Regions from separate parts of the Homo sapiens genome. Here all the other regions are linked to region 1. The links are contacts of gene promoters, found by promoter capture Hi-C in blood cells and fetal thymus (Javierre and others, 2016). All regions are on one chromosome and are shown on one strand. The core of a region is centred on a gene start or on the middle of the fragment in contact, and the rest is flanking DNA. Distances in the headings are between cores, read along the strand shown.

Evidence for each region. The method cuts DNA at HindIII sites, captures the fragments that hold promoters and counts their contacts. A CHiCAGO score of 5 or more calls a contact.
Region 2: a fragment that was not itself captured here is called in contact with the fragment with the promoter of SPRY2 in region 1 in 5 of 17 cell types (M0 macrophages, M2 macrophages, neutrophils and 2 more); the score reaches 11.5 in M0 macrophages.
Region 3: a fragment that was not itself captured here is called in contact with the fragment with the promoter of SPRY2 in region 1 in 1 of 17 cell types (M0 macrophages); the score reaches 5.6 in M0 macrophages.
Region 4: a fragment that was not itself captured here is called in contact with the fragment with the promoter of SPRY2 in region 1 in 2 of 17 cell types (endothelial precursors and M0 macrophages); the score reaches 7.3 in endothelial precursors.
Region 5: a contact is called between a fragment that was not itself captured here and the fragment with the promoter of SPRY2 in region 1, in 3 of 17 cell types (endothelial precursors, M0 macrophages and monocytes). The highest score is 7.1, in endothelial precursors.
Region 6: a fragment that was not itself captured here is called in contact with the fragment with the promoter of SPRY2 in region 1 in 3 of 17 cell types (endothelial precursors, megakaryocytes and erythroblasts); the score reaches 9.6 in endothelial precursors.
Region 7: a contact is called between a fragment that was not itself captured here and the fragment with the promoter of SPRY2 in region 1, in 3 of 17 cell types (M1 macrophages, monocytes and M0 macrophages). The highest score is 7.2, in M1 macrophages.

Annotation. Positions count from the first base shown.
Region 1 is chr13:80,339,758-80,342,719 of GRCh38, forward strand. SPRY2 (sprouty RTK signaling antagonist 2) reads right to left here and starts at 1,369. Exons shown (of 2, transcript NM_005842.4): 1 at 865-1,369. RefSeq lists silencers at 1,317-1,506, 1,737-1,786. The HindIII fragment of the contact is 9,098 bases long and covers 1-2,962 here.
Region 2 is chr13:79,687,489-79,690,450 of GRCh38, forward strand. No RefSeq gene overlaps it. Among named protein-coding and RNA genes, the nearest start is that of LINC01038, 120 kb to the right of the region's middle. The HindIII fragment of the contact is 9,076 bases long and covers 1-2,962 here.
Region 3 is chr13:79,705,418-79,708,379 of GRCh38, forward strand. No RefSeq gene overlaps it. Among named protein-coding and RNA genes, the nearest start is that of LINC01038, 97 kb to the right of the region's middle. The HindIII fragment of the contact is 1,728 bases long and covers 666-2,393 here.
Region 4 is chr13:80,970,634-80,973,595 of GRCh38, forward strand. No RefSeq gene overlaps it. Among named protein-coding and RNA genes, the nearest start is that of LINC00377, 46 kb to the right of the region's middle. The HindIII fragment of the contact is 3,063 bases long and covers 27-2,962 here.
Region 5 is chr13:79,722,343-79,725,304 of GRCh38, forward strand. No RefSeq gene overlaps it. Among named protein-coding and RNA genes, the nearest start is that of LINC01038, 81 kb to the right of the region's middle. The HindIII fragment of the contact is 1,362 bases long and covers 786-2,147 here.
Region 6 is chr13:80,949,761-80,952,722 of GRCh38, forward strand. No RefSeq gene overlaps it. Among named protein-coding and RNA genes, the nearest start is that of LINC00377, 67 kb to the right of the region's middle. The HindIII fragment of the contact is 1,221 bases long and covers 805-2,025 here.
Region 7 is chr13:79,742,422-79,745,383 of GRCh38, forward strand. No RefSeq gene overlaps it. Among named protein-coding and RNA genes, the nearest start is that of LINC01038, 60 kb to the right of the region's middle. The HindIII fragment of the contact is 1,735 bases long and covers 651-2,385 here.

The DNA.
Region 1 (2,962 bases), core at 119-2,618:
ACACAGAAACTGCTTTGTAAAAAACACACAAGAATCCAAATTAAAACACAGCAACAACAACAACAAAAGGAAATAAAAAATTGCCTATTTTGCCACCTACTTTCAGGTAATGGAAAATGATCGCGACCGCTTGATGACTTTCTTCCTGCGCTGGGTCAGCCCGAGCTTCCAAAAATAAAATAAGTGTGACCCAGGCTGACCACGAAGAACGGAAGAGAGAGAGCTGCACTTCCGAACCGCAGAGACCCGGCGCCAGGCAGGGCGACGCTCCCACCCGCTCCGGGCTAGACTGTCCACACGGAGCAGAGGCGGGCACTCCCTCCACCCGGCACCCTGCCTTTTTCTCACCCTGGAAGTCTCCTGCCCCCGAGGCGGGCAACCTGTGTCCCCCAGCCCCACCAGCGCCCCGCCTAGGGACAGCCTCTCCCTGGACTTTGCCTTCCACCAAGAGGAAGAACAGGTTAGAAATGCGGGCGCCTGCAAAGGCAACCTGGAAAATACAAAGTGTTTTTCTCTCCCTCTCCCGCTCTCAGCGCCGAATTCGCGGCCAGTGCACGGCTGGGAGCAGACTTCAGGCTAGCTGTCCTCCGTCCCAACCCCCTAGAGCGCGGGCGCGCGGGGTCGCCTGTCGGGGACACTGCACGGGGTGCATACAGAAGTCCCCGCAGAGGCAGGCCGAGCCCAAGCCCCGGGCGAGGCAGGTCCGCGGGGAGCGCCCCGGATCCTCGCGAAGACCCTGCGGGATTTGAGAAAGGGAGGCTCGGGGAGAGACGGACCCAACTCCTGGTCCGGCTGCACCTACTCCATGTTGCCCACAACGCGCCGGCCGCGGCGCCAGGAGGGGAAGAGCCAAACGTGCCTCACCGTGATCGCGGCTTTGCACCAACCCCTCTCCCTTGGATTCTCTTCTTTCTGCGATGTGCAAATAAATCCAGTCTCGATGCAAACTTTTTTCCTTTCTTTCCAACCTCTGCTTTAGACCAACTTCCGAGCAATCGGCGGGAGAAAAAAAGAGAATTCGGAGCCAGATTCCCCGCTGATGAACACTCCGGGGTTCGGAGCTGGAGACGACTCCCCTTCTACAAGCGCACGCGGAGTATTTCCTCTTTTTTCTCAATGAACAAGAGGCCGAAGCGCCAACGGCAAGTCCCTTTTCCTGGCAGATGAGCGAATGGGAAAAGAAAACGGCCTTACGGAGAACCTAAAGCCAGATCGCCAAGTGGTGCGGCCGGGGCCGCGTCGTAGCGGAGGCGGCGCGGGGGCGCGGGCCGGGCCGGGCCGGGCGGGCGCGGGGGCCTGGGCGCTGCGCGCTCCGCCGGCCCCTCTCCTCCGCTAGCGCTGCGGCGCGCAGCTCTCGGCGGTGCAGACTGGGCGTTGTGGAGGCGAGGCAGCGAGGCCGAGGCGGGGGCGGTGGGTGCGGAGGAGGAGGAAGAGGAGGAGGAGGAGGAGGAGGAGGGTCTGGGGCCCGCCCGGGGGGGGCTCGCCGTTGGCCTGCGCCCTCGCCTTTCCGGAGGAGGCAGGGAGCTCTGCGGCGGCCGCGGCAGCAGTAAATGGCGTCATGTGGATCCGAGGCGGAACAGAGCAGTTGTTGTCCCAGAGGATATATCGCATCCGGTCCCAGCTCATTGGCTCCGCGGGGCTACATTCACTCACACTCCAGCGCCCGCCAGCGCTCCGAGCCGCAGGAGGCATTCAAAAGGGCAACCGCGCCGCCCCGCGCGTCCCCAGGCCGGTCCTGCCGCCCGAGCGCCGTCACGCGGGGCGCCCGCGGGGCCGGGCTGGGCACTGCAGGGTCAGTTTATCTAGTTTCAAGGAAACACTGACCTTAAGGTTTGCCCAGAGGCAATGAGGACGAGCCAGAGGCTCGAGCTGACTTAGGGAACTTTCTCCTTGCCACCAGGAAAGGGGAATGAACATTTAAGACTAATCTGGGCCACGCAGTGTTAGCATGAAAAACAAGTTGCAGGTTTTAAGACTTTATCCAGAATCCATTTCAAGTCTACCTCTCCCCTTTTCTGTTCCCCTTTGCGGAGCGGGTGACGGGGGCTGGGGCGGGGGGAGAAGAAGGGGGAGGGGAAGGGGAGCGGGAAGTGAGGTGGGAGGGCTATTGGTTTATTCTTTGTCTACTGGATTAACCCGATTATACACCAGGCACCAGCACAAACCGCCTCCCCCACCTCCGAGCCTTGTACGGGAGGAACGGAATGCAGATTCGAGTTTCAAGTACCTTCTGCTCTTGCTGGGATTTGCTTTTGATTGTGTCGACTTGTAGTTTTTCCGTTTATTAGAATTTCATTTTTAAGGGGGGTTATCTATGAATGGAGGCTTTTTGAAGAGCTTCCTTACTATTTTGCTTCATGCAGTAGCTAAAGTCTACAGTCTAAGCCTTTTAACTTAATTCATTAATAGACAGGAACAAGATTACTCAGGGCGACAGCATGGGCTTCCGAAATGGGGGGGCGGGGGGGAGGGAAGGGTTGGCTCACTGCAGATTTCCTTCTTCCCTTAACTAAAAGTCATCCTTCATTTCCCACTTTTCTTGCCACCTAGAACATTTCTCAAGATTCTGTTGTCCATGTTGAAGGTGCACTATTCTTTCCCATTTACAAAAAAAAAATAAAGATAGAAAATGCATACATATGCACTGTCCTAGCTGCCGTTCATTTACTAAGAAATGTGCCTTCACGTGGGAGCACCAGTGGAAAATTAAAACTTGCGCATACACACGCCTAATATTGCATTCTGTCGAGCGACTTACAGAATGCTTTTACTTTACAGGGAAGTACCTGCTTGTACGGTCAAAATTCCCGAATAGCACCTGCGATCTTGCCCCATGCGGGGTGTTCTTGAAAGCAGTGTTAGGAAAACATGGTGCTTCACTCGTCCAGCTTTAACCCAATCCATTTGCAGCTACCCTGGAACTAGCTGCCTTCTTCTGAGCTCCTGCTCTAGAATGTCCCCA
Region 2 (2,962 bases), core at 195-2,694, 650 kb before region 1:
AAATAAATAAATACATAAAGAAATAAATAATAAAAATAAAAAAATAAAATGCTTTCTCATTGCTCCTGGAGTTAGTGACAGAGTCAGGTCTTTTGACCCAGTTTAGCCTATTTGTGAGCATTTAATGCTACCAATCTGTATCCTACTGTTTTTGTTCTTCCTCAACTATATTTTTTATGAGAATGATTTTATCTGTTGAGTTATTTAAGAAACACAGCTGCATTGTGCTAGGAACCACAGATACAAGAATAAGGAAGAATATTTTCTGTCCTTAAAGATCTTACTCTCTAGAAGGAGATAAACAGCAAACAAAATGTTAAAAATATAATGACATTAGTGATAAATAGGAGTATTTAAAAGATGCTATGAGATCATGGAGAAGATAGAACTCTGCTTTGAGGATCAAGAAAAATCTTGCAGAGGTGGTAATATTTGAGCTGGGATTTAAAGATGAGTAGACATTTCTAGGTAAAATAGAAAGAAGACATTCCAAATGGAGTGAAGAGTATGGACACTGGAATGGGAGTTTAAAGAAGCAAATGCTCAAGTCTTCTTCTCAACCCCAGCAAGGTGGGGAACATGGACAAGGCTTCCACTGTGGACAGACTTGGAGAAATGTCAGATGTCTGATGGTCTTTCAAAAGACCAGAGAGAGGAGACATTGGTATGGGGGAGGCTGAAAGACATTAGTAGGAATACAAAATTGAGGGATAAGGTCAAGTAAAGTCAGACTACAGTTAGGAGAAATAGGATTAGTCACTATTCTAGATATAAGTGTGAAATTAAAACATGAATGGAAAAGGAACCCAAGATTCAGCATAAAGAAAAGAAGTTGGGGTAATGAATGAAAGGTAGGGAGAGAGAGAAGTAAGAAATAGGCTACCAGTGGATAAAGCATGACAGTTTCATGACAATTTTTTGAGAGCAGGAATCTGTTTTCTAATGACACCCTAAATAGGCAAACACGCTGTAGGTGGTTACTTAAGGACCTGCATATTTGGAAAACCTGTGAAATATCTGTGTATGGAAGAAGTTCTGAGAGTGTGTGGTAGCATGGAGGGAAATGAGGATGGAGAGGCAGACAGTGATAATATCACAAACATCCTTATAGTCTATGCTAAGGAGTTTGGAATTCCTCTGAAGTTATTTAGAAGACACTGAGGGATTTTTAGTGTGAAGATTTTAATTTTAGAACATTTTTTGGAAGCAGTGTCTAAGATGAATTATGGGTATAGTCCAGAACTGGAATATAGGGCAATTAATTAGAAGACTATTCCAATAATTGTTTTTCAATTCTGATGTTTTAAAGAGTGCTTTTATTTCTTTTTTGTTTTTTTAGAGTTGAGATCTCACTTTGTCATCCAGGCTGGAGTGCAGTGTTATGATCGTGGCTCACTGAAGCCTCAAAGTCCTGGGCTCAAGTGACCCTCTCACATCAGCCGTCTGGGTAGCTGGGTCCACAAGTGCACACCACCATGCCTGGCTACCTTTTTGAGTAATGGAGTCTTACCTTGTTGCCCGGACTGGTCTTGAGATCTTGGCCTCAAGCGATCGTCCCACCTTGGCTTCTCAAAGTGCTGGGATTACAGATATGAACCACTGCTTCCAGCTTGTTTATTTTTTTAATGACCAATAATAATTTTATACATTTATGGGGTACAATGTGATGTTTCAATATATGTATATATTATGGAATGATTAGGCCAAGCTAATTAGCATATCCATTACCTCCCCTACTTATTATCATTACTTTTTGTGGTGAGAACATTTAAAATCTATCTTTCAGCTATTTTGAAATACGCAATACATTATTAATTATGGTCACCCCTCTGTGTTATACACAGCATATGTTATATAATTATCTACCTCCTGTATAACTGAAACTTTGTATCTTTTGACCAATGTCTCCCCTTTTCCCTATTAGCTCCCAACCTGCACCTACCCTGGGCCTGTGGTAACCACCATTCTACTCTCCCATGATGTTGACTTCCAGGTTTTACATATGGGTGAAATCATACAGCATTTGTCTTTTTGTACCGGGCTAATTTCACTTAACATAATATCCTCTAGGTTCATTCATGTTTTCTCAAATGACATTTTTTTTAAAAAAGACTAGTATTTCTTTGTTATATATATTCACATTTCCTTTATGCATTCATTTATTGATGGACACTTAGGTTGCTTCCACATTTTGGCTATTTGAGGTCTTTTGTGGCTCCATACAAATTTTGGAATCTTTTTTTTTTCATTTCTGTAAAAATGGCATTGAAATTTTGGTGAGGATTGCACTGAATCTGTAGATTGCTTTGGGTAGTATGGACATTTTAACATCACCAATTTAAGATGGGAGATTTGGGACATTTGAATCTCCCAAAACATGAGCAAGGGATATCTTTGCATTATTTTGTGTTTTCTTCAAATTTTTCATTAATATTTTCTAGTTTTCAGCGTATAGATTTTTCAACTCCTTGGTTAAATTTACTCCTAAGTATTTTTTAATGCTATTGTTAATGGGATTTTTTTTAAATTTATTTTTTGGATAGTTCATTGTTAGTGTATAGAATGCTGCTGACTTTTGTATGTTGATTTGATGTTCTGCAATTTAACTTAATTTGTTAATCCTAAAAGTGTTTTTTTCTTTTTTTTTTTGGGGGGGATTTGTCAGGGTTTTGTATATACAGACAGTCCCCGACATATGATGGTTTGACTTAGTTTTTCAACTTTATGATGGTATGAAAGCTATACACATTTAGTGGAAACTGTACTTCTCTCATGATGCTGGGCAGAAGCAGTGAGACACAGCTCTCAGCCATGCATTTTCGACTTATGATATTTTCTTGGGTCATAACCCTATTCTAAGTCAAGGACCATCTGTATAAGATCATCATGTTGTCTGTAAACAGAGACATTTAACTCTTCCTTTCTAATTTGGATGCCTTCTAATTCTTTCTCTTGCCTAATT
Region 3 (2,962 bases), core at 280-2,779, 630 kb before region 1:
TCCATCTAAATTATTTTGGCTTGTGTGTTGTGAGGTGATGATCAACATTCGTTTTTTTTCTCAGCTGTATGCCAGTTGAAAAGATTATCCTTTTCCCAGTGAATTATGTTTTGTAGAAACAAAACATAACAATTGATGTTTTGTAGAAAATCAATTGACCTTATAACTGTGAGTCTATTTCTGAACTCTATTCTGTTTTGTTGATCTATCTTCACGTTAAACCACCATATATTTATTATTGTAGCTTTATAGTAGTCTTGAAGGCATGTCGTATGAGTCTTTCATCTTTGTTCTTTTCGAAAAACGTTTTTGCTATTCTAGGTTCTTTGTACTCATACTTAAATTTTGAGTTAGCTTATATACATTTCTGTTTAACAATGCCTGCCAGAATTTTGATATGAGCAGCTTGAAGTGTAGAGATTAATTTGGGGAAAATTGACATCTAGTACTGAGTTTTCCAATCTATGAACATGATTTATCTCTCCATTTATTTAGGTCTTCTCTACTTTCTTTCAGCAATATTGTTTTTCAGTGTAGAGGTCTTACACAGTTTTTTATTAAATTTATTCCTGAGTATTGTATTTTAAAGAATACTCTGATATATATGTGTATGTATATATATATATATATATATATATAGAGAGAGAGAGAGAGAGAGAGAGAGAAGCTTTAAAAATTATGTTTTTCAATTGTTTAAAAATAGAGAAATACAATTGGTTTTATAATTGTCCTTATATCCTATGACCTTGATAAATTTAATTATGGTAGATGTTTTGTAGATATTTTAGAATTTTCTATGTAGAAAATTACAGTCAATAAATAGAGACAGTTTTTCTTTTTAATTTTTTTTGCCTTATTACATTGACTAGGACCACCAATAAAATGTTGAAAATAAGTGGTGAGAGTAGATATCCTTTCTTTCCTTTTTTTCCCAATCTTAAACATTAAATATTTCATTATTATTCACTATTATTTTAGCTTTAGGTTTTCTGTAAAATCCCTTTGTCATGTTGAGAAAGTTTCTGTTTATTATTAGTTTTGCTGAGAGCTTTTTACCAAGAATGGATTTTCAATTTTATCAAATGCTTTCTCTGTATATATCACAGATCATATTTTCTTTTGCTGGTCTTTTGATATTATAAAAAACAATGATTGTATATTGAATGTTGAACTAAACTCGTGTTACTATAATGGTCTTCATTTGGTCAAGATGCATTATCTCTTTTAAATATCCTTGGATTTTATTTGCCAGTTTTTTTTAAAGATATGTATATCTATATTCTTGAAGGATATTGGTCTGTAATTTTTTTCTTGTTTTCATATCAGGCTGTAGACTGGCCTAAACAAGTTGTGAAATGTTTTCTCCTATATTTTCTGAAGGAGTTTATGTAATATTACTATTGCTTCTTCTTCAGATGTTTAATAGAATTCACCGTGAATACGTGTAGATTTTAATATTTCCTTTCTGTTGCTCCTTCCTTTCTAAGATTTCCACCTCAATCTTTGAGCTTCCTCTGGCAACCTCAGTCTTTGAGCTTCTCAAGCTAATAAGATTATGGCTTTCTACTTGAGTTCTAGCCTGTCCATGCCAAATGAGCAGTAGAGGACTTAAGTGAAAAGCCATATATATGTAAATTTTACCTTGTGCAGTTCCCTGTTTTGTTTTCAGTCCCCTCTCACCAGTTTTGTTTTTGATTATTCCCTAGTGCCTTCAAATAATGTTTTTATATTTATATTTTTCCAGAGTTTATGACTATGGGGAAAGTTTTGTCCAATATAAATATATTGCTTGGAAGTCAAATAAGTTTCTATCAGAAAAATGTTTTTAACCCCTAAAGCCAACCTATCATTTGAAGTAGCTTGCTGCATGAAGTAGTGAGCCAACTGGACCTGGAATGATCAACAGGGGCTATATTAGCAGTTAATTTATCAATAATAGTTATCACATAATAGACAGCACATGGTACTAATAAAAATGAGTTTTGGATTAGATAAAAAATGGATTGGAGCTATTGTATTTATCCCTTCAAATTATGTCTGAAGGTCTGAATATTTCACTCTTGTAATCATAAAATACAGTATTTTAGGTACTTGTCAGATAATTTAACCTCAATTTGACTGCCATGAAGACTTATTAAAAGTTTTACTGAGAGAAGTTGCATTTATGTATTATTTTTAAAAGAAAATTTCAATTCACACAAAGGTTCATGGTCATCCTGAGGGTAATCCAGATATAATATTAATATACTGTCATGTTTATAAGTATAGGCCCTGGGGTTACACACTATGGACTCTGCTACTCTTTACCTATGTGATCATGGGCAAAATATTCAAGTTTTCCATACCTGAGTTGTCTAATCTATAAAATAAGGATGAGAATAATAATCCTTATAAGCTTCTTATATTCAATGTATAATGCATGATAAGTGCTGAGAAAGTTTCTGACACATAAGGTATATTAAATATATATGTTATAACCACAGACCTCAATTCCTGAACCCAAATATGTTCTTATTTCATAGACCTGCTTTCCATTATGCTATCACTTTGCAGTAAGGGTCCTTAAAGAATATCTTATAAACTTGTTATTGTGAGTAGGTAATGACGTTATTGTCTCCATTTTGCACATGAGAAAGCAGATGCTTAGAGAGTTCTGTAATTGGTCCAAGGCCATTTTGTAATACTCATACCCAGACCTGCATGATTCCATGCTCTCCTGTTAACCATGAGGCCATGTTTTATTTGGCCTGACCAATCTCAAGCACGACAGAGCACTGACTGGCTTGCTATGCATCTACAAATACTCAGTTTTTTTAGTTCACACTCATTTTCTTATGACTTTAATGATGTGGCTTAGCTCTTCTGTTCAGGGTCAAAACATGCATTTAAAGGGATTTCAGTGAACTAACATTAGGATAAACTCACTTTGACAGGTAGAAAATAAAATCACTACTATTGTTAT
Region 4 (2,962 bases), core at 308-2,807, 630 kb after region 1:
CATCCTGGGGTCTCCAGCTTGCAGAAAGCTTGTCATGTGACTTCTCAGCTTCCGTAATCACATAAGCCAACTCTTCTCATAAGTACTCTTTCATATATATATGTATATGAACTCTGATGAATACAATGCTGACTTCTTTGAAAGCCTTCTGCACCCTTGCCTTTGTTCATTACTGCTAGCATGCTGCTCAAGAAGGGGTTTTTATATTTACTTGTTATTGATTATAGATATCTTGGTTACATGGTTGGATGAATGAATTCACATTTGGAAGTATAACTTGTAATGAGTATTTCAGCTAGAGGATGAGCAGACAAATTTGTCAAGGAATAACAAAATCTCTCATAATAATGAAGTGGTAGGAAACTTACTACTTGAAAAAAGCAAGGATGCAAGATTTCCCCGATCACAGCTAATTTACACTTATGCTTGCCTGCTGCATTAGCACATCCCAGTACAGTTATTCTATCCTTAGCAGTCTTAATTCCTGTAGCGGGTGTCTCATCAGCTGTAGTAAATGTCTTTCTGGGGCAAGAACACAAAAACAGTGATGTTTCATCAGCGTTATTTACTTGGTCTTGTGTCATATTTTTATCAGCAGTTACTTTGGCAAATCAATGAGTTTTTCTGCCGCTTCATGATCAGCAGATGCTTTATTATCACAAATATCTAAAAATGTAATGCCGTGTTTTTTTCTTAAATGTTTGCAACTAGCCTGTTGAGTATTTATAGTTTCCTTCAATTTTCAGTTCATTGTGATAGACCTTTGCTTGTTTCATGATCAGCATACCATTAAGTTGTATGTGTTTACTGCCACACTGATGGATGTACTCCTCTAATACTTGATCTCATTTTTTAGCTTTATGTAGTAGTTTTTTTCTATTTTTCCTTAACTTTTTTTTTTAGACAGAGCCTTGCTCTGTTGCCCAGGCTGGAGTGCAATAGCACAATCTCAGCTCACTGCGACCTCCACCTCCTGGGTTCAAGGGATTTTCGTATCTCAGCCTCCCTAGTAGCTGGGATTAGAGGCGTGCACCACCACAGCTAATTTTGTATTTTTTGTAGAGATGGTGTTTCACCATGTTGGCCAGGCTGGTTTTGAACTCCTGATCTCAAGTGATCCACTTGCCTCAGCCTCCCAAAGTGCTGGGATTACAGGCGTGAACCCCTGTGCCTGGCCTATTTTTCATTAACTTCTGTTCATCAATTTCATCCTAGAACTTTGACAGTTTATCCTTCTGTTTCCTTAGGTCACATGTAGTGGTTATGCTGACATCATAATTTTCTGTAAGTTGTTTTACGTGCACACTGCTGTCCAGTTTCTCCAACAGCTTTACTTTCTGTGAGCATAAACTCATCCTTTTCCTTATCACTGTTACCCACAGGGGCATCATCCAGGCCCTTTGGACATTTTCAACAAAGTCATTTTCAACACCATACAGCAGAAAATAAGCAAGAGCAGTGAGTAATGCACATGGATCTTGGCCCCATGTGGGGCATCGTGTGGAGGCTGCCATTGACATATTCACCCTGCACACATGGCATTTTATTACCCTTTGTGTGTCTCCTTCATGGGGGAATCCGGGTGTGTGTGGAAAAGATATATCACAGATGAAGAAGGCTGGAAAGATTATTTTTACCCCTTCAGGATACTAAGTAAACTTTGTGGTATGCACCTGCATTTTGACTGCAACTCATCACATAATGACAGGCGTAAAATTTTCCACTTGTGGCATCATGTTGGTGCTCAAAAGTTTCAAATTTGAGAGCATTTTGGATTTCAGATTTTTGGATTAGGTATGCTCAACTTATAGTACACATTTAAATAATTTGGGGGTGATATAGAAAAAAAGCCTATTTGTAAAAAATTGTGCTATTGGTAAATTAATTTAGCAAAATTTTAGTATTTTAAAATATGCAGTGAACAATTGCTTTTCAGGTCAGTTGCTAAAATATGAGGAAATATAGAAGCAAATCTAGAACAAATTAATGTTCAGAAAGATTATGTTAATGTGTTGACCATGTTGGAGTTTGCCTGAGCCCTTGCCGTTGGAAAACAGCAAAGATGATAAATTCCCCCACCCTTCCACCTTTTGTGTTCCAAAATGTCTTATCCCAAAGAACTACTGTATTCCCACATATACTTCAATATTCTTAAGTGACTCAGATACGATTTCTATCCATCTTGCTTGTGATTCCTTTGTTTTATAATATCCCAGGTTTTCAATCTCTTCCTTGAGATGTTCCCCATTAATGAAGAATCTCTCTGTTGCAATGACCTGAGTAAAATCATCTCCTTAATGGCATGACGCATTTTTGTCTTTCACTGTGTTGAATTTATATTATTACTCCTGGCAACTGTCAGTTAGAGAGACAACATGACGGCTAGGGTTCTGCATTTTGAAACCATCACTCTGGACATGAAATATACTCTTTTAAAGTAGTGGGTATTTTAAATCTATTTTTAAAAATCAATGTATACATGTACCCTGTTAAAAAAAGAGGAGATTTGGCAGTTTTTTTGTTTTGATTAGCATAGATCTTCATTCAATTATATATTTGTTCATGGCTTAATTGTGCTCAAGAATGAGTTATGTGACTTACAGGTTATATAACTTATCAGCTGTGTAAACTCAGGGAAATGACTTAGGCTTACTAATCCTTTGTTTCCCTATATTCCTTATTTCCTACTTCATAGGATTATTGTGAAGATTCAATTAGGTAATATAAAAACTGGCACTGTTGGAGTTGGCTATTGTTATATAATCTATCATTTTATTAAATCTTTAAGTTTTTTTTTTTTTTTTGAGACAGAGTTTCACTCTTGTCACCCAGGCTGGAGTGCAATGATGCAATCTTGGCTCACTGAAACCTCTGCCACCCAGGTTCAAGCAATTCTCCTCCCTCAGCCTCCAGAGTAGATGGGATTATAGGCGCCCACCATCATGCCAGGCTAATTTTTGTC
Region 5 (2,962 bases), core at 217-2,716, 620 kb before region 1:
CATATCTTTTAGGTATCCACTGTTTCGTTTAGTCAGCACAACATGGCCACAGATAGTTCTAAATTAAAGAAATAAGATTTAGAGTTTAGACAATATATGCTCAGGGATCCCAGTGGCAAAGCCAGGTTTGAATTGCAAATCAGTCTGATGAAAAAGTCCATGTTCTTTGTTGTTACTATACTGCTTGGACTCTCTTACTCTCAGCCTTGTGACAGTTGACTTGCTTCTGACAACTTCTTTCCCTCAGGTAAACCAAGGAGGCCTTCATGCTTCATGTGTCAGTCCCAACCCAACTTCTCACTGCTGCTCTTCTGACAAATGAACATGATTCCGCTGTTACCTGCCTCTATCTGTATTTATGTTTTATAAGTTATTTACACATTTTAGCTAAAGACATTTAGAACATTTGAGTTTGCACTGATTATGTTTTTGACAATTGCATTTACTAGTAAACCTTCAGTTCTTCCTCTTGCTAACATAGTTGGAAGGAGGGTTCTTTTATTATTGAAATAACCAAAGTCCTTCACTCCATTGCTTGCAACTCCAAAATTTTACTTAACAAAAAACTATGTCATTAAGAATTGTCATAGTTTCAAAACGTTACCATTATGCCTAACAAACTTATTTCAGTGACTGCTCCACTCATTTGTTATATCTTACTTAACTCCATGTCAAAGACCAGGCTCTCCACTAAAGATAGAAACCCAAGAGGTGCAGAAGCTAGTGAGTCAGCAATACAGTCTCCCTCCCATCTCAGGAGCTTACTTGCAAGAGATGAAATGTGAAGCTTCTATAATAAAAAAGTAGCATCAGAATTGTTATTTTTATTCAACCTTTACATAACTTGAGTATTCTCAGTCTCCAAATCTAGGCTGTTTCTTCAGGCAGTGGCAGGCCTCCAAGGAGAGCTTTCACATGTCAGGAGTTCTGGTGGGTCTGAATAATGTCTCTTGAGGTTGTTTCTGATTTCCTCAATGGGCCCCTGTTGACCTCACTATGAAACCTGGGGAAAAGTAGGGCTCTGTATGAGGCAGGTAAATGCTCAGAGCTCTTGGGAAGGGGCCAGCATTAATGATGATTATGTAGCAGGTTGAAAGTGATCTTTGGGCTCTTTTCCATGTCAGGAATGCCTCAAACACAGCTGATGTGGGAGGCTCTGCAGACCCCAGAAGCACCACTCGTGTTTTAAGGGGAGTAAACTCCTTTTCACACTACCTCTGCCGTAAGGACACACAAAGATGAATGGCCAGCCTGAATGACAGGGCTGCTTCTCTCTGCAAGCTGCATACAGAACGCTTTGTGTTCATGACGATTGCAATACTTCCCTTCTGGCAGAGGGAAGCTGGCTTCTCTAGAGCTGCGGAAAGTAACGCTTGTTTCTGAATTGGTTAGAGTTCAATCTCAATTATGTCTGGAAACAACACACACTCCTTTCCCCCTTCTGTATGACTGCAGTGTTAATTTCAAGTGAACTTGTGCAAGTTACTTTAAAGTTGAAATAGCCACACAACACTGACATTTATTGGGCACTCCCTTTGGAGCCTTCCTGGCAGCATGGCCACAGAAGGTGTTGCCTCTACGCCAGGGGTTTGGAGCCTCACTCTTTCCAGTCTTCATGTCCCACCCTACAGCAAGGCTGGAAGAGATTATTTGCACAGGATCACATTCAATTCTGCCTCTCCTCCACCCACACAAAGCCTAATTTCAACTTTTCCCCAAGTGGTATGAAGCTGGAACCCCAGATCAAGTCCAAGAAAGAAAAAAAAGATATTATAATTTAATTTGCTTGCCATTTAAAAGGCATTTTTATTATGCAGATGGCTGGATTCTTGGATTTTCATGAGGTAGTACGCTTACCAGCATTAACATAACTCTAATTTGTTCTACCTTTATTGTTTTTTAAAAGCCTTAGTATTTCAGCTGACCATGTTTCTGAATTCCTTTATGCCCCTCTAAAACATACTTTATATAAACCTTGATCTGATGAAGAAATGCATGTAATATTTTAAAAAGGCACACAGCACAACAGTCATGAGTTGCACCTGTTTTTAGTATCTGCACATACTCAGCCAGGGCGTGTCATTGAATCAGCCCCTGCAGCTGTTGTTTTGCCATTAAAAAAATACTACTCTATTCATGTAGGTTTAAGCTTTGTGAACTCTAACTTGGACTTGTTAAAGGAAGGTTCTAAGACTCTGTCTGGACTGCTGATAATAGGTTAGATAAAGATCCAACATTAGCCCTCACACAATTACATTTACAGGAATGGGAGGAAATCTCTCAAACAATATAGAGTCCAGAAGACAGCAGATGTGGACCTTGCAAAATTAATGATTAACTGCATGCCAGTGTGTTTGTCAGGGAACAGTGCTGCTCTTTAAGGGCTTATATAGTCTATGAAAGAAATTAGCTCATGAGAGGACTCATAAGGACAAAAGAAAAAAACTTAAGTAGAGGCTTGACATATCCTGCTTTTCTCACAGGGCAAAAAGTTAAACATAAAGCTCTCCTTTTAATAGTGTGAAGTTCTGACTCTGAAGCTGAGGCAGATCATCCACTTGTTAAAACAAGATATGAACATTCTTGTTATTCCTTAAAGGGGGGAGGGAATAGCGTGCACTCAGAATGAACTCTAAATGTACTAGAAAGAAGGGGGAAATTATTGAACAATTATCCTAGACGTTGAAGACTGAAACCAAAAATTATTATAGGAGTGACAGGAAAGTAGTAAATAAGACTAGATGTTCATAATTTGTTATCCCCTTTGATTATATGGGCTTTGAAATGCCCAGAAAGTCTAATCAAAATTCACAGGTAAAACTGGAGATGAGTATGAGTTAAGTACTAGTAGGCTTGTAATTGATTAAAGATGTGTTGCAAGGAACACAATCTTCTAAAATATCTAGTTAAAATGAATTTTATAAGAATGATAATTTCTTCACATGACCTAAATTCCCTTTTA
Region 6 (2,962 bases), core at 165-2,664, 610 kb after region 1:
ATCAGAGGAATAAATTGATCTAAAAGAGGTTGGAATAAATTTGACAAGATTTAATGGCCCCTTCATTATACTTGTTGATGCACTTAAATCTCTATAAATCCAGATTGCACATTCTCAGAATAATAATTTTTAAAAATTTTTAATATTTAATCTCTGTGATGAACATGGAAAGATTATGAATGGAATCAGTTAGTAACAAGTCAGATCACTAAAGATAGCTTCAGAAAGATCTACCCCTGTCTAGTATCAGCACAAATAAAAAATAATTAAGTCCCTACCATTAAATAAACTTTTATTTAACACTTACTATTTTCCTCATGCTATGTGAGACAGAGGACACAAATGTAAAAAAGACAGTCTCTTTTTTTTAAGCCACAGTATTGGAGAAATAAATATATACAAATAATCCCAATTTAGAGTGATAAATGGCATAGCAGTTGAGTATAAAAGGTAGAAAAGGTGAAGGGAAAAAAAGGTAAATTCTTTCTGATGCCTCTAATTACAGAGTAGGGAGAGTGAAAATCAGAAACATTTAGATAAAAAATATACAGCTGAACTGAATCCAAAAGAATGATTTCCACATAGAAAGGAGAGTAAATAATGTTTGCAAACATGCAGACCTGCAGAAGATCACAAGGTGTATAGCGGAACCAAGTAACTTAAAATGTGCAGAATGTGAGCTAAGTTTAAGAAAGAGCCAGAGATAAAACTGAAAAGAAAGGAAAGGTCAAGGTTAAAAAAAAGGCATACTTAGAAGCTCACTTTGGTTACTCTTTATAGGAAAGAATTGGATTGGGAGGGTGAAGCTTTGTATCTTGGCATGAGTCTAGTTTAAAAAAAAAAGACTATTCAGAAATTGAGATAATGTATGTATTATGAAAGTGGAAGCAGAAATGAGTAGAAAGAGATGGATTCAAGAGCTATTTTGGAATTAGAATCCATAGGAAATGTCACATAAAATATTGGTAGCAGGACAGTTGAAAAAAATACATAGGCTACCTTCCACATTGTAATTCCATTTGCTTGGAGGATATTTGGCTCAAAAATCTCAATAAGAAATATAGAAAAAACTGAGTTTGGAGTGGAAATTATTAATATAAGTTTGAAAATTTGAGTTTCAAACACCTATCACACATATAGATAGATGCCAATATGGTATGTAAACAGAGGAACCGATATTATGAATAGGACATGTGATTGATAATCTAGAGCAAGTAGGTAGTAAAATCATGCTATTGATGCTGGAGCCATTGTACACCTCTTGCTTTAAAAAAATAAACCTCAACCTAAACTTCATATCTTATTTAAATTTATCTCAAAATGGACCATTAAATGTAAAATGTAAAACCATTACAATTTTAGAAAAAAAGAACAGAAATAGTCATCATCATCTAGGCTGAGGGAAAGGTTCTGAGACTTGACCCCCAAAATTATCCATAATAAAAAAATTGATAAATTGAGTGCATCAAAATTAAAATATTTTGCTCTACAAAGACTCTGTTACATGGATAAAAAGACAAGCTGTAGACTTGGAGAAAATATTTGCAAACCATATACCCAACAAAAGAATAGTAACTAGAATATATAAAGACATGTCAAAAGACAATAGTATAAAAAAGAAAAATCAAGTAGAAAATGGGCAAAAGACCTGACACATAGTTAAAGCAAAGAGCACATACAGATAGCTAGTAAGTGCGTAAAAAGGTGCTCAACATCATTAGCCAGTAGAGAAATGCAAATTAAAAACCACATTTCACTGCCAGAAGCAGTCTGCATTATACAAAATTAATAAAAGTCACTAATTTCTGCAACTTTCTATTTTATTTGCTTCCATGGCAAATTGTTGATTTTTGTGTCATTTCTCCATTTCTTTTTGAGGTTCCTTCCTTCTTCTTCCCTAAATTGAATGTGACCACTACTCAGCAATATTTTTTTATTTCTGTCTAAAATATTTCTTAGAGATTTTATGTTTATGACTTCAAATTCCAAATTTTCATTAATGATTTAGTGTGAATTGTTTCTTTAAGCTTTAAGTGAGTAAAAAGTAATATCTATCAGAATGGCTAAAATTTAAAAAAAATGACATCAGATGTGGGTGAGGATGGGAAGAAACTAGATTGCTGGTGGGAATATAAAATAGTATAGCCACTCTGTATAACAGTTTGGCTGTTTCTTATAAAACTAAACATTCAACTACCATATTACCCTATAATCATTTCCTTGGGCATTTATCTCAGAGAAATAAAAACTAACATTTATGCCCCAAAATTACATAAATATTTGTATTAGATTTATTTATAATAGCCAAAAACTGGAAAAATTCAGATTTCCTTCAACAGATCAATAGTTAAAAGATAACCCCCAAAACTCTGGTACACGCATATCATGAAACATTACTCATCAATCAAAGTAAACAAATTATCAATACAATGCGATAACCTGGGTGCATCTATAAAGAATTATATTGAGTGAGAAAAGTCAGCTCCAAAATGTTACATACTACGTGGTCACATTTGTATAACATTCTTAAGATGAGAATAATGACAGATATACAAGACAGATTGTTAGTTGCCAGGGGTTAAGATGGTGTGAAGATAGGAGGGAAGTAGGTGTCACAGTAAAAGGGCAGCTTGTGTGAATAGAAATGTTCTGTGTCTTGACTATGTAAATGTCAATATCCTGACTTGCAAGATGTTACTATTAATAGGGATGAAGTAAAAGGCACACAGGATCTCTCTATATAACATATCATAAATGTAAAACTATAATTATCACAAAAGAAAAAGTTTAAAAAAGTAGAAGTTGATGGATTTGCAGTTGTATCCAGGAGGGTAATGTACATTATTTAGATAGATCAAGTAGACAAAAGTGACAAAGTATAAATAATGTTAATTATAAATTAACAAAACTAAAAAATACCATTAATACTTACAAAATATTATTAATTAAATGTTTATCTGAA
Region 7 (2,962 bases), core at 268-2,767, 600 kb before region 1:
TCAACCCTTATGTATGGAGAAAGGGATACCATACTCAGAAAAGTGATTATGTTCTGGATAGTCACTCCAAAACTCCAAAAGATCTCTGCTCCTCATAATACCTTCCTACCCTGATTAATTTTCATATCACCTTCACTTACTACAGGCAAAAGAGATTTAGGATTCTTGTTCATGCAATAATATGAATTACACTTTCCCTGATATCAGGGAGATACATCAATAATACACATCTTGCCATTAAATGGCAAAGATATAACAACTTAGGAATGATTCAGAAATCAGAAATCAATATCTGGAGGCATTTAGCCCCTTGAATATAGAAATATTCTTATATATAGATACACTTTTTTTGCTGTTGAAAGGTATCTCTAGTTTTTAAACAATGGAAGCAGTGGAAGAGCCCACATAGCTGGGCAATATTTGACCCTGGGATGGAGCCCTCTGCCCCAGGGTTAGGCAACCTTTCTAGTGTGGGTAGATAGGGAGTGTCAAGTGTAATCTGAGGCCAAAGCTTTCTGGGAAGCGTGCCCCTGATGTAGGCTATCTGAGTGCTCTGACCCTGTCCATCTGCCTACCTCATCTGTCCTGACCTATGAGGCCTGTAGCTCATTAAGATCTTGGCTATTGACATCTGACTTGCTCTAGCCTCAAGCTTTGCTTTCTGGCTTTCCACTCTGCATGCTCCTTGATCTCAATTTTTAAATCAGTTTCCCAATCTCTACCTTGCCATGATCGTATCAGCAATGGTTCCTGATTACTCAGCTTTTCTGTCTTAATGATCTTCCCTGAGGGCTCCGGCTAATGAGTCCTAGTGCCTGGCATGATGGATGAGCCTTTTAGCAAATACTTTCAGATAAACATTTTTCCTTCTTCTTTTCTGCTAACAAGTACATATGATGCACTGATACCTCAACTAATGACAAATGCATTCTAATGAGACTTCTTAAATATTGTCAGAAATTTATAAACTAGATTGGAATAACAGCATAGTATTAGACTTGCATTCCTGCTATAAAGAAAAATTATCTAAAACCTATAAATAAGGTCCAGAGGATAGCTGCATTATCTTTTAGTGTATATTTTAGGCACACCTTTAAATTATTTGATTTTGTAGGCTGATGTACCACTGTTTGACTTTGCCATTTACTGTTGATTAGTGCACATACACTGTGGAGTTATGTCTTTACTAGTAGTTTTTGTTCAATAGAGATGTGAATAGTTTCTGTGTGGTAAAAAAGATAAGCAACAGTTTATTGCCTGGTAGGACACTAAGTTGTTTTGTGTTTAAACGGACAATAATCTTACTCTAATATTATTATTTTTAAAATTGCCTATAAATAGTTTCTCAAAATGTTTTGTTTGAAATAACTTTATATCTACTGGTTCCCTCATTAATAAATGAGTTGAATACACTTTGAACATGTTCATCGTGTATTTGTATGGGTCATGTTAAGTTATGACAATTATATTTTGCCACTGCAGATGAAATAAAAAGGTTAATAATAGTAAACTAGTACTAGCGACAAAATCAAACATGAGTCTTCAGGAGTGGGAAGGTGTTGCATTGAAGACAGTGAGGTTGAAAGGAGTGAGAGAGTGGAAATTGGCACTCAGTCAGGGACAAACATGCCAGAAAGAGGACATTTACACAGAACATGGAGCTCCAATTGACATATGAGGGTTATCCTGGGCTCATTCTTCCCCTCACTTTATCACCAAGAAGCCATGGAAATAACTCTTTTGGGGACTGTGGCTACTCATCTTCAGCCAAGGAAGAGTTAGTAGCGCAATGTCCCTCCTGCCTAAGTCTAGGGTGCTGAAAGAAGGGCTAGGAGACCATCAATTATGATGCTATTCAGATTTATGTTCCTAAGAGACTCTGCACAGGTACCTCTGAAGACTAGTCTAAGGACTTTGAATGTGAGCTTCGGCTAGAAGTTTCTGAGGGTCTGTGGAACACTTAGGGAAAGCCCCCTCTTCTTGGGTCTGCCCTTCAGGACTGTGGAAGTCAAGAGCCTCAGATAAGCAGCAGCTTGGAAACATCAGAAGCCCTCCCAGGAATCTGCAGAAAGGACCAGCCTACGAAGACCTTATTCCTTGCAGACCTCTGCTTACATTTTTCACCTCCAACTAATTTGTACATTGATTGATAAGGAGGTCAATCCATGGTCTAGTGAGTGTCTATCTACATGGAGCGTAGACATTGTTGGCCTGTTGTTATACCCCTCAGCGAGGAAAAGGAATCAATTTCCCTCCCAGAAATCTAGTTGGATGAGTCTCAGCAAGTTACAACAAGGATCTACCTTACTCCCAAACTAACTGAAAACTCAACCATCAGATTCTTGGCAGAGAAAGGATGGAGGTAAACGTGACAATGAACTGAGAAGCTTCAGGCTCCACTGGTAAAGCAAGCGGGAGAAAAAGGCAAGGGAAGCACTTCTGCAGCCTCCACCCAGATTTTAAATTTATTTTTGTATCTTTTGAATAGGTTGCTCAAGGCCTTTGGTAAAATGACAAAATGAGGTTTTTTCAAATCTTCCTTTCACATCTTACAGGTATGAATGGTACTAGGTTTACCATTTTAAAAAGTCACAGTTGAGCTTCCAGCCTCTGTGTGTGTGTGTGTGTGTGTGTGTGTGTGTGTGTGTGTGTGTTTTCCTTTCATTAATGGGTTCTTTCCAAGTCAGGAAATCAACAAGAGACAAAATTTATAGCTAGACTAAGTTAAAGAATGCTGTTCTGAGCACTAGATTTTCTTTTCTGCTTTTAAAAATCCCCATTTGTCTTCACATTTTCTTTTCCAAACCCCTCCCCATCCTATTCCATGTGGCTGGAGGCTTAATATGCTAACACTTAGGAGAACAGAAGACTTTCTCCAGAGAGAGCTACAGAGCTGTTCTGTGTAACTGCCAGAACCGCCAACCTGAGCCTCCCAACACAGACCAGCCTGGCCCTGCCAGGA